Linked DNA regions of Homo sapiens: region 1 is linked to region 2. Evidence: promoter capture Hi-C in human tissues and cell types (Jung and others, 2019). All regions are on one chromosome and are shown on one strand. The core of a region is centred on a gene start or on the middle of the fragment in contact, and the rest is flanking DNA. Distances in the headings are between cores, read along the strand shown.

Region 1 (7,419 bases), core at 4,899-7,398, 56 kb before region 2:
GGAAGAGAAGAAACCCAAGTGATAAAGGGGGCAGTGACAGCCCACAAAAGGAAAGGAAAATGGGTAGGATCCTGCAGTCCCCAACTGGAGATCGAAGGACACCAAGGGATTAGCTGTCAGAAAGTCTGAAGCAAGACCACTGTTACCCAAATGGTATTTTCATTAAAATTAGAGAAAGTGTTCCTTCCACAGGTAAAAGTTATAGCTAATATGTTAATGCTAATGAAAGCAATTAGGATAAACAGCTACTTTGTATAAATTATGTAAATTGAATTATTAAACAAAATAGCACTTTGAATTTTTAATCACAATAATTAGGAACTCGAAGTCACTCACATATAATTTTTTTTAGTTATATTTTAAGTTCTGGGTTACATGTGCACAACATGCGGGTTTGTTACATAGGTATACATGTGCCATGTTGGTTTGCTGCACCCATCAACTCGTCATTATATTAGGTATTTCTCCTAATGCTATCCCTCCCCCAGCCCCCAACCCCCTGACAGGCCCCAATATGTGATGTTCTCCTCCCTGTGTCCATGTGTTCTCATTGTTCAACTCCCACTTATGAGTGAGAACATGCAGTGTTTGGTTTTCTGTCCTTGTGATAGTTTGCTGAGAATGATGGCTTCCTTCATCCATCATTGGATGAATGATGGATGGACCTTCATCCATGTCCCCACAAAGGACATGAACTCTTCCTTTTTTATGGCTGCATAGTATTCCTTGGTGTATATGTGCCACATTTTCTTTATCCAGTCTATTATTGATGGACATTTGGGTTGGTTCCAAGTCTTTGCTATTGTGAATAGTGCTGCAATAAACATATGTGTGCATGTGTCTTTATAGCAGCATGATTTATAATCCTTTGGGTATATACCCAGTAATGTGATGGCTCAGTCAAATGGTATTTCTAGTTCTAGATCCTTGAGGAATTGCCACACTGTCTTCCACAATGGTTGAACTAATTTACACTCCCACCAACAGTGTAAAAGTGTTCCTATTTCTCCACATCCTCTCCAGCATCTGTTGTTTCCTGACTTTTTAATGATCACTATTCTAATTGGCGTGAGATGGTATCTAATTGTAGTTTTGATTTGCATTTCTCTAATGACCAGTGATGATGAAGATTTTTTCATGTGTCTTTTGGCTGCATAAATGTCTTCTTTTGAGAAGTGTCTGTTCATATCCTTTGCCCACTTTATGATGGGGTTGTTTGTTTTTTCTTGTAAATTTGTTTAAGTTCTTTGTAGATTCTGGATATTAGCCCTTTGTCAGATGGATAGATTGTAAAAATTTTCTCCCATTCTGTAGGTTGCCTGTTCACTCTGCTGATAGTTTATTTTGCTGTGCAGAAGCTCTTTAGTTTAATTAGATCCCATTTGTCGATTTTGGCTTTTGTTGCCATTGCTTTTGGTATTTTAGTCATAAAGTATTTGCCCATGCCTATGTCCTGAATGGTATTGCCTAGGTTTTCCTCTGGAGTTTTTATGGTTTTAGGTCTTACATTTAAGTCTTTAATCCATCTGATTTAATTTTTGTATAAGGTGTAAGGAAGGGATCCAGTTTCAGCTTTCTATATGGCTAGCCAGTTTTCCCAGCACCACTTATTAAATAGGGAATCCTTTCCCCATTTCTTGTTTTTGTCAGGTTTGTCAAAAATCAGATGGTTGTAGATGTGTGGTGTTATTTCTGAAGGCTCTGTTCTGTTCCATTGGTCTATATCTCTGTTTTGGTACAAGTACCATGCTGTTTTGGTTACTGTAGCCTTGTAGTATAGTTTGAAGTCAGGTAGCATGATGCCTCCGGCTTTGTTCATTTTGCTTAGGATTGTCTTGGCTATGAGGGCTCTTTTTTGGTTCCACATGAACTTTAAAGTAGTTTTCTCCAATTCTGTGAAGAAAGTCAGTGGTAGCTTGATAGCATTGAATCTATAAATTACTTTGGGCAGTATGGCCATTTTCATGATATTGATTCCTTCTATCCATGAGCATGGAATGTTCTTCCATTTGTTTGTGTCCTCTTTTATTTCATTGAGCAGTGGTTTGTAGTTCTCCTTGAAGAGGTCCTTCACATCCCTTATAAGTTGGATTCCTAGGTATTTTATTCCCTTTGTAGCAATAGTGAATGGGAGTTCACTCATGATTTGGCTCTCTGTCTTTTATTGGTGTATAGGAATGCTTGTGATTTTTTCACATTGATTTTGTATCCTGAGACTTTGCTGAAGTTGCTTATCAGCTTAAGGAGATTTTGGGCTGAGACAAGGGGTTTTCTAAATGTACAATCATGTCATCTGCAAACAGGGACAATTTGACTTCCTCTTTTCCTAATTGAGTACACTTTATTTCTTTCTCTTGCATGATTGCCCTGGCCAGAACTTCCAGTACTATGTAGAATAGGAGTGGTGAGAGAGGGCATCCTTGTCTTGTGCTGGTTTTCAAGGGGAATGCTTCCAGCTTTTGCCCATTCAGTATGATATTGGCTGTGGGCTTGTCATAAGCAGCTCTTATTATTTTGAGATACGTTCCATCAATACCTAGTTTATTGAGAGTTTTTAGCATGAAGGGCTGTTGAATTTTGTCGAAGGCCTTTTCTGCGTCTATTGAGATAATCATGTGGTTTTTGTCATTGGTTCTGTTTACGTGATGGATTACATTTATTGATTTGCATATGTTGAACCAGCCTGGCATCCCAGGGATGAAGCCGACTTCGTTGTGGTGGATAAGCTTTTTGATGTGCTGCTGGATTCGGCTTGCCAGTATTTCATTGAGGATTTTCGCATTGATGTTCATCAAAGACATTGGCCTAAAATTCTCTTTTTTGTTGTGTCTCTGCCAGACATTGATGTCAGGATGGTGCTGGCCTCATAGAATGAGTTATGGAGGATTCCCTCTTTTTCTATTGATTGGAATAGTTTCAGAAGGAATGGTACCAGCTCCTCTTTGTACCTCTGGTAGAATTTGGCTGTGAATCTGTCTGGTTCTGGACTTTTTTTGGTTGGTAGGCTATTAATTATTGCCTCAATTTCAGAACCTGTTATTGGTCTATTCAGAGATTCAATTTTTTCCTGGTTTAGTCTTGGGAGGGTGTATGTGTCCAGGAATTTATCCATTTCTTCTAGATTTTCTAATTTATTTGCGTAGAGGTGTTTGTAGTATTCTCTGATGGTAGTTTGTATTTCTGTGGGATCGGTGGGGATATCCCCTTTATTATTTTTTAGTGCACCTATTTGATTCTTCTCTCTTTTCTTCTTTGTCTTGCTAGCAGTCTATCAATTTTGTTGATCTTTTCAAAAAACCAGTTCCTGGATTCATTGATTTTTTGAAGGGTTTTTTGTGTCCCTATCTCCTTCAGTTCTGCTCTGATCTTAGTTATTCTTGTCTTCTGCTAGCTTTTAAATGTGTTTGCTCTTGCTTCTCTAGTTCTTTTAATTATGATGTTAGGGTGTCGATTTTAGATCTTTCCTGCTTTCTCTTGTGGTCATTTAGTGCTATAAATTTCCCTCTGCACACTGCTTTAAATGTGTCCCAGACATTCTGGTACATTGTGTCTTTGTTCTCATTGGTTTCAAAGAACATCTTTATTTCTGCCTTCATTTCGTTGTTGACCCAGTAGTCATTCAGGAGCAGGTTGTTCGGTTTGCATGTAGTTGTGTGGTTTTGAGTGAGTTTTTTAATCCTGAGTTCTAGTTTGATTGCACTGTGGTCTGAGAGACAGTTTGTTGTGATTTCTGTTCTTTTGCATTTGCTGAAGAGTGTTTTCCTTCCAATTATGTGGTCAATTTTAGAATAAGTGCATTGTGATGCTGAGAAGAATGTATATTCTGTTGCAACATTTGGGGTGGAGAGCTCTGTAGATGCCTATTAGGTCCACTTGGTGCAGAGCTGAGTTCAATTCCTGGATATCCTTGTTAATTTTCTGTCTCAATGATCTGTCTAATATTGACAGTGGGGTGTTAAAGTCTCCCATTATTATTGTGTGGGAGTCTAAGTCTCTTTGTAGGTCTCTAAGGACTTGCTTTATGAATCTGGGTGCTCCTGTATTGGGTGCACAGATATTTAGTATAGTTAGCTCTTCTTGTTGAATTGATCCCTTTACCATTATGTAATGGCCTTCTTTGTCTCTTTTGATCTTTGTTCATTTAAAGTCTGTTTTATCAGAGATGAGGATTGCAACTCCTGCTTCTTTTTTGCTTTCCATTTGCTTAGTAGATCTTCCTCCGTCCCTTTATTTTGAGCCTATGTGTGTCTTTGCATGTGAGATCGTTCTCCTGAATATAGCACATTGATGGGTCTTGACTCTTTATCCAATTTCCTAGTCTGTGTCTTTTAATTGGGGCATTTAGCCCATTTACATTTAAGGTTAATATTGTTATGTGTGAATTTGATCCTGTCATTATGATGCTAGCTTGTTGTTTTGCACGTTAGTTGATGCAAACAACTAACGTTTATGCATGATGACATTATGATGACGTTTCTTCATAACGTCAATGGTCTTTACAATTTGGCATGCTTTTGCCGTGGCTGGTACCAGTTGTTCCTTTCCACGTTTAGTGCTTCCTTCAGGAGCTCTTGTAAGGCAGGCCTGGTGGTGACAAAATCACTCAGTATTTGCTTGTCTGTAAAGGATTTTATTTCTCCTTCATTTATGAAGCTTAGTTTGGTTGGATATGAAATTCTGGGTTGAAAATTCTTTAAGAATGTTGAATATTGGCCCCCACTCTCTTCTGACTTGTAGAGTTTCTGCCGAGAGATCTGCTGTTAGTCTGATGGGCTTCCCTTTGTGGGACCTTTCTCTCTGGCTGCCCTTAACATTTTTTTCTTCATTTCAGCCTTGGTGAATCTGATGATTATGTGTCTTAGGGTGGCTCTTCTAGAGGAATATCTTTGTGGCATTCTCTGTATTTCCTGAATTTGAATGTTGGCCTGCCTTGTTAGGTTGGGGAAGTTCTCTTGGATAATATCCTGAAGAGTGTTTTCTAACTTGGTTCCATTCTCCCTGTCACTTTCAGGTACACCAATCAAACGTAGATTTGGTCTTTTCACATAGTCCCATATTCCTTGGAGGCTTTGTTCATTTCTTTTCACTCTTTTTTCTCTAATCTTGTCTTCTTACTTTATTTCATTAATTTGATCTTCAATCACTGATATCCTTTCTTCCCTTGATCAAATCGGCTATTGAAGCTTTTGTATGCTTCATGAAGTTCTCATGCTGTGTTTTTCAGCTCCATCAGGTCATTTATGTTCTTCTCTACACTGGTTATTCTAGTTAGCCATTCCCCTAACCTTTTTTCAAGGTTTTCAACTTGCTTGCGATGGGTTAGAACATGCTTCTTTAGCTCGGAGAAGTTTGTTATTACCCACCTTCTGAAGCCTACTTCTGTCAACTCATCAAACTCATTCTCCATCCAGTTTTGTTCCCTTGCTGGTGAGGAGTTGTGGTCCTTTGGAGAAGAAATCTTCTGATTTTTGGAATTTTCAGCCTTTCTGCTCTGGTTTCTCCCCATCTTTGTGGTTTTATCTACCTTTGGTCTTTGATGTTGGTGACCTACAGATGGGGTTTTGGTGTGGATGTCCTTTTTGTTGATGTTGATGCTATTCCTTTCTGTTTGTTAGTCTTCCTTCTAACAGTCAGGCCCCTCAGCTGCAGGTCTGTTGGAGTTTGCTGGAGGTCCAGACGCTGATTGCCTAGGCATCACCAGCAGAGGCTGCAGAACAGCAAATATTGCTTCCTGATCCTTCCTCTGGAAGTTTCATCCCAGAGGGGCACCAACAAGATGCCAGCCAGAGCTCTCCTGTATGAGGTGTCTCTCTGTCCCTACTGGGAGGTGTCTCCCAGTCAGGCTACACAGGGGTCAGGGACCCACTTAAGGAGGCAGTCTGTCCATTATCAGAGCACAAATGCCATACTGGGAGAACCACTGTTCTCTTCAGAGCTGTCAGGCAGGGACGTTTAAGTCTGGAGAAGCTTTGCCCACAGCTGCCCCTTTCCCCAGGTGCTCTGTCCCAGGGAGATGAGGGTTTTATCTATAAGTCCCTGGCTGGGGCTGCTGCCTTTTGTTCAGATATGCACTGCCCACAGAGGTGGAATCTAGAGAGGCAGTCAGCCTTGCTGAGCTGCAGTGGGCTCTGACCAGTTCAAGCTTCCCGGCAGCTTTATTTACACTATGAGCATAAAATCGCCTACTCAAGCCTCAGCAATGGTGGATGCCCCTCCCCCCAGCAAGCTCCAGCATTCCAGGTCAATTTCAGTCTGCTGCTCTAGCAGTGAGAATTTCAAGCCAATGGATATTAGCTTGCTGGGCTCCATGGGCGTGGGACCCACCGAGCCAGGCACCAGAGGAAATCTCCTGGTCTGCCAGTTGCAAAGACCATGGCAAAAGTGCAGTATTTGGGCAGGAGTGTACCGTTCTTCCTGGTACAGTCTCTCACAGCTTCCCTTGGCTGGAAAAGGGAAATTCCCTGACTCCTTGCACTTCCCAGGTGAGGTGATGCCCCACCCTGCTTCAGCTCACCCTCCATGGACTGCACCCACGGTCCAACCAGTCTTGATGAGATGAACCAATAAACCAGGTACCTCAGTTGGAAATGCAGAAATCACCCATCTTCTGCGTCAATCTCACTGGGAGCTACAGACCGAAGCTGTTCCTATTCGGCCATCTTGAAAGAGCACTCTCTTGGCATACTCAATATGTTTAGTTGCCTTACTTTCTTTTCTTTCTTTTTTCTTTTTTTGTTGAGATAGGGTCTTGCTTTGTCACCCAGGCTGTGATGAAGTGGTGCAATCTTGGCTCACTGCACCCTCGACCTCCCAGCCTTCTGTGCACCCACCTCAGCTTCCCAAATAGCTGAGATTCCAGGTGCACCACTACACCTGGCTGATTTTTGAATTTGTGTAGAGATGGAGTTTCACCATATTGCCCAGGCTGGTCTTGAACTCCTGAGCTCAAAAGATCCACCTGCCTTGGCCTCCCAGAGTGCTGGGATTATAGGTGTGAGCCACTGTGCCCAACCTAGTTGTCTTACTTCCTGAAGAGAAATGATCCTGCTTGAAAGAGTAACCTGTCATGTTGTGAGAAGGCCTATGAAGGGGGCCCCAGAGTGGATCTGAGAGATGCCTCTGGGAGCTAAGAATGATTCCAGGCCAGCATCTAACAAGAAAACAGGGGCCTCAGTCACACAGCCATAAGGAAATGAATGATGCCAACAAACTGAATGAGCTTGGGAGCAGATTTTTCCTCAGTCAAGCCTCCAGATGAGAATGCAGCCCTTCAGACCTTAACTTAGCCCTGTAAGGACTTTAGCAGAGGACCTACATAAGTCGTGCCCAGATTTCTGACCCATGGAAACTATGAAATAATAAATGTTGTTGTTTTAAGCTGCTAAGTTTGTGGCCATTTGTTATGCAGCAATAGAAAAC
Region 2 (6,868 bases), core at 284-2,783:
CACTGTGTTGGAGAATCCAGTGTAACAAAACAGAGAACACAATGGTCATGAACCACCCTGGAATTAACAAGGCTTGACCTGGAAGGTACTCTTCTGCTCACTCATTCAACCCCTCCCGTGCCCTGCCTCTCTCCATTTTACATATGAGGAAACAGACTCAGAGAGAGGAACTGAGTAGAGCCTTAAGTGAGTTATTGAGAGAGGGAAGCAAAGGACCTCTCCCACAGCAGCGGGGAGAGCATCCTTTGGGAGCTCAAACTGGGGCCAACCCCACCCCAGTCCTTGTCCCACCATCCTCTGCCAGGCCTTGCCACTCCCCTCAGTGCAGGGTCATGGGCAAGTTTGCAGTGAGAGGGGCATCACCTACCTTGATGGTGTTTGCAAGCTCCTTTGTAAGCAGCTGCTTCAGCTCACCCTTAGAGAGGGTGTCAAAATGCCCCTTCCGAACTGAGTATTGGTGGAAGATATTGACAATTCCCTCCAGATGCTCTTCAAGTTTTGTCATCTTCCCAGCCTAATGTTAACCTTCAAGGAAACAAGGGAAGTCTAGAGGCAGTTTCTCCCCCACCCCTCAACCTCCACTCTCCCCTCTCTTTCTGAATCAAGGGCCTAAAGAAAACATAACATCCTCCATATCTATTTTGTGGTCTCTGCTCTGTTTGATCCATGGTGAACTTCTCATGTGTGGATAGGATGGGGAGGAGAAAACATATAATACTGTCTAACGTCTAAAAAAATCAGCCTCAGTTGCCCATGTTCCATACCACCTCATCCACCGGGGTGCATAACTTGGAGGGTATTGCTTACTCAAGGTCCCTTGGGAAGGGTTCTGTGATTGGCCAGGCTGTTTGCTTTCCTCAGGTGATGGCACTATGGCCACATATCCCCCACAAATGGTCCATAACCCACCCCTGCTTAGCCATTCTTTTTTTGTTGTTGTTGTTTTGGGTTTTTTGTTTGTTTGTTTGTTTGTTTTTGAGACGGAGTCTCACTCTGCCGCCCAGGCTGGAGTGCAGTAGGGCGATCTCGGCTCACTGCAAGTTCTGCCTCCCGGGTTCACGCCATTCTCCTGCCCCAGCCTCCCGAGTAGCTGGGACTACAGGCACCCGCCACCACGCCCGGCTAATTTTTTGTATTTTTTTAGTAGAGACGGGGTTTCACCATGTTAGCCAGGATGGTCTCGATCTCCTCACCTCATGATCCGCCCGCCTCGGCCTCCCAAAGTGCTGGGATTACAGGCGTGAGCCACCGTACCCGGCCTGCTTAGCCATTCTTAAATCATGGGACTGAGTCTACATAGCACAACAAGAGCTGATCTACTTGGGTCCAAAATGCAATATCACCCCAGAGGTGCTCAGGCAAGTGGAGGGTTGTGGTTTCCAACACCTTGTGATTTCAAAGTGGTCACCTGCAGTCACTACCCTGTGGACCACCTAAGAACCCATCCAAGGAAAATGCACTTACCCCTCAATGCACAGGAATGTGGAGCTACAGCAAAAAGCCAGCAGTGGTGAAGGGCACTGAGCCAAGGAAGGTTTTATAATCAGTTCAGGCTTCATCTTAGCCCTTGGGTGAAGAAATCTCTGATTCATCTTGAGGCAATTTATGTAAAGTACTCTGTTGCTCAATAGAAGCTTCAAACCTGTGGCTTAGGCTGCCACAGGAGCAGCCCAGATTGTACCCAGACTGAATTTTGCCCTCCTGCTCAGCCTGAAACAAAATCACCCCCACTCCACCCACCCGCACAGGGGTGCCCTGAACCTTTTTTAGCCCTGAGCCAGGGCCCAGGTTTCAGGTTTAGCTCTACTCCACTGCTCCCTAATAAAAGACTAGGAGAACAAACTTTACAGCCTGAGTGTCTTGTTTTAACAGATGAGGTTACCAGCTCTTCAGTTTTGGCAAATGGAATATCAACTTAAAGATCTTTATGCAGCTAAGGAGATAGGTAGGGAGACCTCCTCCTAAGTCGTTCTGGGATGCAAAGTTCATCACTGGAGCAGAGGATCAGTTTTCAAAATAGATTCCAAGGTTTTCAAAAAAGGAGAGAGCAATGCTACTATGCCTCCCCTTTGCTTTCCCAACTTTCTAACTTGGCTGTTACAAAGACCTAGAAAGCTGGAGTAGGGTAATCATTGTGTGTGAAGAAAGTTCACCATGCCTAGGTTACTTTACCATGTTCATGAGTTCAGTAAGACAGAACATTCACACGAGTTTTAGTAAAGCAACTTTATTACTCACAGAGAGGCAGCAAGGGACAACAGATGCCCAGGATTCATGGAGAGGTGGTCCTTCAAGATTCAGAAACCTGCCCAAAATGGATTAAGTCTCATCTGTACATTCCCCATGTCGCACCAAAGCTAAGGGACATCCAAAAGCACTCTGCCCTTGGTTTATGCCTAGAGGTCAATAAGATTGCTGAGCAATCAAGGCCATGCCAGAACCTGTGCTGCCATCTACCCCACAACACAGATATCCCCCTTAGCAAAGCTAGTTCATTTCATGTGCCCACCGACCTCTCTGGATCTGGAGGCAAAAGTCTGTCTCTCCGATCCATGTGTCACCTTGACTGACACAATCTCAGTGCAACATTGTTAAGCCATTGACAGTATTTGTTTCACTAGGCCCAGGAGGACACCACCAGAGCAGGATGATCAGGCTTGTGTAAATCAATGACAATGACCAAGGTGAATCTCAATCATTTTAGGAGGTTTATTTGGCCAAAGTTAAGGATGCGTGCCCAGAGGTAGGTCTACGTCTTTCTCCAAAGATGATTTTGAGGGCTTCAATATTTGAAGGAGAAACAGTGGATATTGGGGGAAGAGGAAGAAATATTTTTTAAATGTGTCAGTAGATAAGAGACAAGTGATTGCATCCTTTTGAGTCTTTGATCAATCTTTCACTGAATACACAATTTTCATGTGGGAGCGGAGTAGAGGAAATAGTCACTTATGCCTTCATCTGGCTCAGTGAATCTGCATTTTTACATAAGATAACAAAAATAGGGGAGAGGAAGCAATCAGATATGGATTTGTCTTGGGTGAGCAGAGGGATGACTTTATGTTCTGCCCTTTGTCCCACACCTGTGAAGATAAGCTGTCAATTACACTGCCAGGGTGAAATTCAATAGAACTGTTTTAGGGTAAAGATCTTGAGGCTCACAAGGAATTTCCTTGTGGGCAAGTTGTGAGATTGGTGTATGGCTTTTTATCTTTGTAGCTATCTTATTTAGAAACCAACCTGGGTGGGGGCAGGCTTGCATGACCCATTTCCCAGCTTGACTTTTCCCTCTGGCTTAGTAAGTTTGGGATCCTGAGATGTTTTTTTTTTTTCACATCTGCCTGGAGAAGGGACTAGCCCAGGATCCCAGCCATCCAGGCAAGAGGTTGCTAAATGCGGATCACGAGGTCAGGAGATCGAGACCATCCTGGCTAAGATGGTGAAACCCCATCTCTACTAAAAATACAAAAAATTAGCCAGGCATGGTGGCAGGCACCTGTAGTCCCAGATACTCAGGAGGCTGAGGCAGGAGAATGGCGTGAACCCACAAGGCGGAGCTTGCAGTGAACCGAGATCGCGCCACTGCACTCCAGCCTGGGCAACAGAGTGAGACTCCCTCTCAAAAAAAAAAAATAGAAATCAAAAAAGCAGGAACACAGCCTCACATACAAATATTAACCTCCAATGTGAATGGCCTAAACACTGCACTTAAAACACATACCTTGGCAAATTCGATTTAAAAACAAGACCCATCCTTCTGCTGTCTTCAAGCACCTGTCTCATGTGTAATGACACCTGTAGATTCAAAGTAAAGGGATGGAGAAAGATCTATCATGCAAACAGAAAACAAAAAAGAGCAGAGGTTGCTATTCTTGAATCAGATCCGATAGACTGTAAGCCAACAACAGTAAAAAAGGATAAAGAAGGGCATTACATAGTGATAAAGGGTTCGATTTAACAAGAAAATTTAACCATCCTAAATAAATACACACCCAACACTGGAGCACCCAGATTTATAAAATAAGTACTTCTGCATCTAAGAAAAGATTTTGGCAGCCACACAATAATAGCAGGGGACAACACCCCACTGACATCAGTAGACAAATCATCAAGGCAGAAAACTAACAAAGAAATTATGGACTTAAATTTGACACTTGACCAATTAGACTTAATAGACATCTATAGAACAATGCACCCAACAACCACAGAATATATATTATTTTCATCTGCACATGGAACATACTCTAAGATCAACCACATGCTCAGTCATAAGGCAAATCTCAATAAATTCAAAAAAATCAAAATCATACCAAGAATCTTGGACCGCAGTGGAATAAAAATAGAAATCAATACCAAGAGGAACTCTCAAAACCACACAAATAAATGGAAACTAAACAACTTGTTCCTGACTTTTGGTTAAACAACAAAATTAAGGCAGAAATCAAAAAATTCTTTGAAACATACAAAAATAGAGACACAACACAACATATCAAAACATCTGGAATGTAGCAAAAGTAGTGTTAAGAGGGAATTTTTTTTTTCATCTTGGATGTGGGCGAATCTCATTTTAATTGCAAAAGACTTCATTCACAGCACATTCAATAATGGACCAACAGGAGAGTTGCTGGCTTTTGAACATATGAATATATAAAAATACCTTGCAACTTAGGTAGTCAAGATAATAAGTGCATAAAAGGAAAGCAATCCTCATTTTTCTGAAAACTTTTACATTTTAAAAGGTGACTAGGCATACTTGGAAGTTCAAAGCTGTAGAATGTACCTTGCAGGGGAAGAAGGAGGAAAATCCTTTCCATGTTTTTAGGTAAATATATAACAAATATATCCCAATTCCACTTGATAAAGTCAGTTGCATGACTTCCTTGAACCAGGCTAGGGCAGAACACTCAGTAAAAGCAGGCCCTGGGTGGGGATGTGAATCCTGAAGAGGAGCACCAGATCCCACGCAGCACTAAACACATCAGTTTTACCCTCTAACATAGATGAGGCACGCCGCCCCATGACCCTGGACAGGGGATGCAGGAGAACAGACATCAGGTGGTTACTGCTCCCACTGCCTGGTGCTTTCCAATGGTTTTAAGTCAGGCCATGGAGAAAATCCTTTACCACCAAACACAAACTGCCATTGAACTTGTCATAAAGGATGTTATGGGGGAAATTCTTGAAACACATACATAAGGACTTCTATTTACCTAATTAGAAAAATGATTACAGAATTGGCATTCCTGTTTTCGTAAGATTTTGTTCTCTACATTGGAAAGGTTTAAGAAAAGTTGTCTATTTTTGGTTTTATTTTACACTTTCAAAAGAGAGGGAACAGAGAGAAACGTATGACTAACTGCCCAACTTTGGGGTCCCACAGGTATGAAAGCAGACTTCTCTGACTCTAGGTCCATCTAGATTTGGGGGAAGTTTACATTCCTAGGGAGGGTTAGTGAAGCCTGTTACACCCCCAATCCTACAGAAAGTATTCTACAGCCAATCTATCACAGTGTTCTAACAAAGCATATGTTGAGGAAAACTACAGGTTTCAACCTAACATCTAAATCTTAAAAAGTAGCACTTCGGCAACAAACAAGCGCAGAGAGCTCACCTGAAAAGTGAAATAACATGACTATTGCTCAGATATCTGAAAAGTCAAGCTGCTGCCCCCAGCTCCGCCCACTCAAAGGCTTAGGCAGACACCTAGGGTGGCGGCGGCTCCTTGGCAGCACCTAGGGTGGCGGCGGCTCCTTGGCAGCACCATTCACAGTGGTATCATCATACCGGGGTAGGAGCACCTTAGTGTCATTGCTGGTAACATAAACCAGGACATCGGAGGAGTTCCTGCCGTTCATCTATCTGCAGCAGTTCCAAACACAGCTAATCAAGTAACCCTTAAAAGTTAAGATAATGCTAATAAACAGAAGAATAATAAGGACCAAACAGGTGGATTCACTGACATGACATCATCTCTGTAGGGAAAATTAGGAGGCAGTTGTCGTATGTATTCCTGAATGGAGTTTGGATAAACAAGCACAGTGATTGCAACCAAGGTGTTCAGAGCAAAATCAAAGATCTGGTAACAGGGCCAGGTGCGGTGGCTCACGCTTGTAATCCCAGCACTTTGGGAGGCCGAAGGGGGTGGATCAGGAGGTCAGGAGATGGAGACCACGGTGAAACCCCGTCTCTACTAAAAATACAAAAAATTAGCCGGGCGTGGTGGCTGGCGCCTGTAGTCCCAGTTACTCGGAGAGGCTGAGGCAGGAGAATGGCGTGAACCCGGGAGGTGGAGCTTGCAATGAACTGAGATCGCACCACTGCACTCCAGCCCGGGCGACAGAGCGAGACTCCGTCTCGGAAAAAAAAAAAAATCTGGTAACAGAAGAATGGGATGATCCAGAATGCGTGTTGCCTGTATGCTTCGTAATTAGCCTTAATTACGTAATTAGCCTTAATTCTCATGATATCAGTATCATGAGAAGAGAAATCGCAATGGCAATGCACGTATTGGCGTCATCCATGAACTCAAAATCACCTCCCAGTTCAGAACTTGAAAAGTGATACTGATCCGGATCAGCCAGGGCACTCAACAAAATCAGGAGTACCACGGCGTTGATGATCAGGTACCAGACACCTAACAGGATGGTGCTGGTGCGGACATGGAGGCACAGGCAGCAGCTGTTGGAGTAGAACCGCATCCAGGGTGCGACCAGGGCGTGACCATCGTCATTGCTCCTGGAGCAGAGGCGCGAGGACGAGCCCAAGTTTCCAGGAGCGTTGACCTCCTCGCCCAGACTCCGCCACGCGGCTGCTGCAGACTCCTCGGCTGCTCCGGCTTCCGGCCCGCTCACCGGTGTGCCCGCCAGCCTCG

The links. The method cuts DNA at HindIII sites, captures the fragments that hold promoters and counts their contacts. A contact is called where the count stands out against the background at its distance.
Region 1: a fragment that was not itself captured here is called in contact with the fragment with the promoter of S100A12 in region 2 in 6 of the 25 tissues and cell types used here (H1 embryonic stem cells, aorta, heart left ventricle and 3 more).

The regions. Positions count from the first base shown.
Region 1 is chr1:153,313,904-153,321,322 of GRCh38, forward strand. No RefSeq gene overlaps it. Among named protein-coding and RNA genes, the nearest start is that of PGLYRP3, 4.7 kb to the left of the region's middle. The HindIII fragment of the contact is 4,919 bases long and covers 3,690-7,419 here.
Region 2 is chr1:153,374,088-153,380,955 of GRCh38, forward strand. It overlaps S100A12 (S100 calcium binding protein A12), which reads right to left and starts at 1,534. Exons shown (of 3, transcript NM_005621.2): 1 at 1,465-1,534; 2 at 368-525. The coding sequence starts at 505. It also overlaps the pseudogene LAPTM4BP1. RefSeq lists a silencer at 6,297-6,467. The HindIII fragment of the contact is 10,940 bases long and covers 1-5,424 here.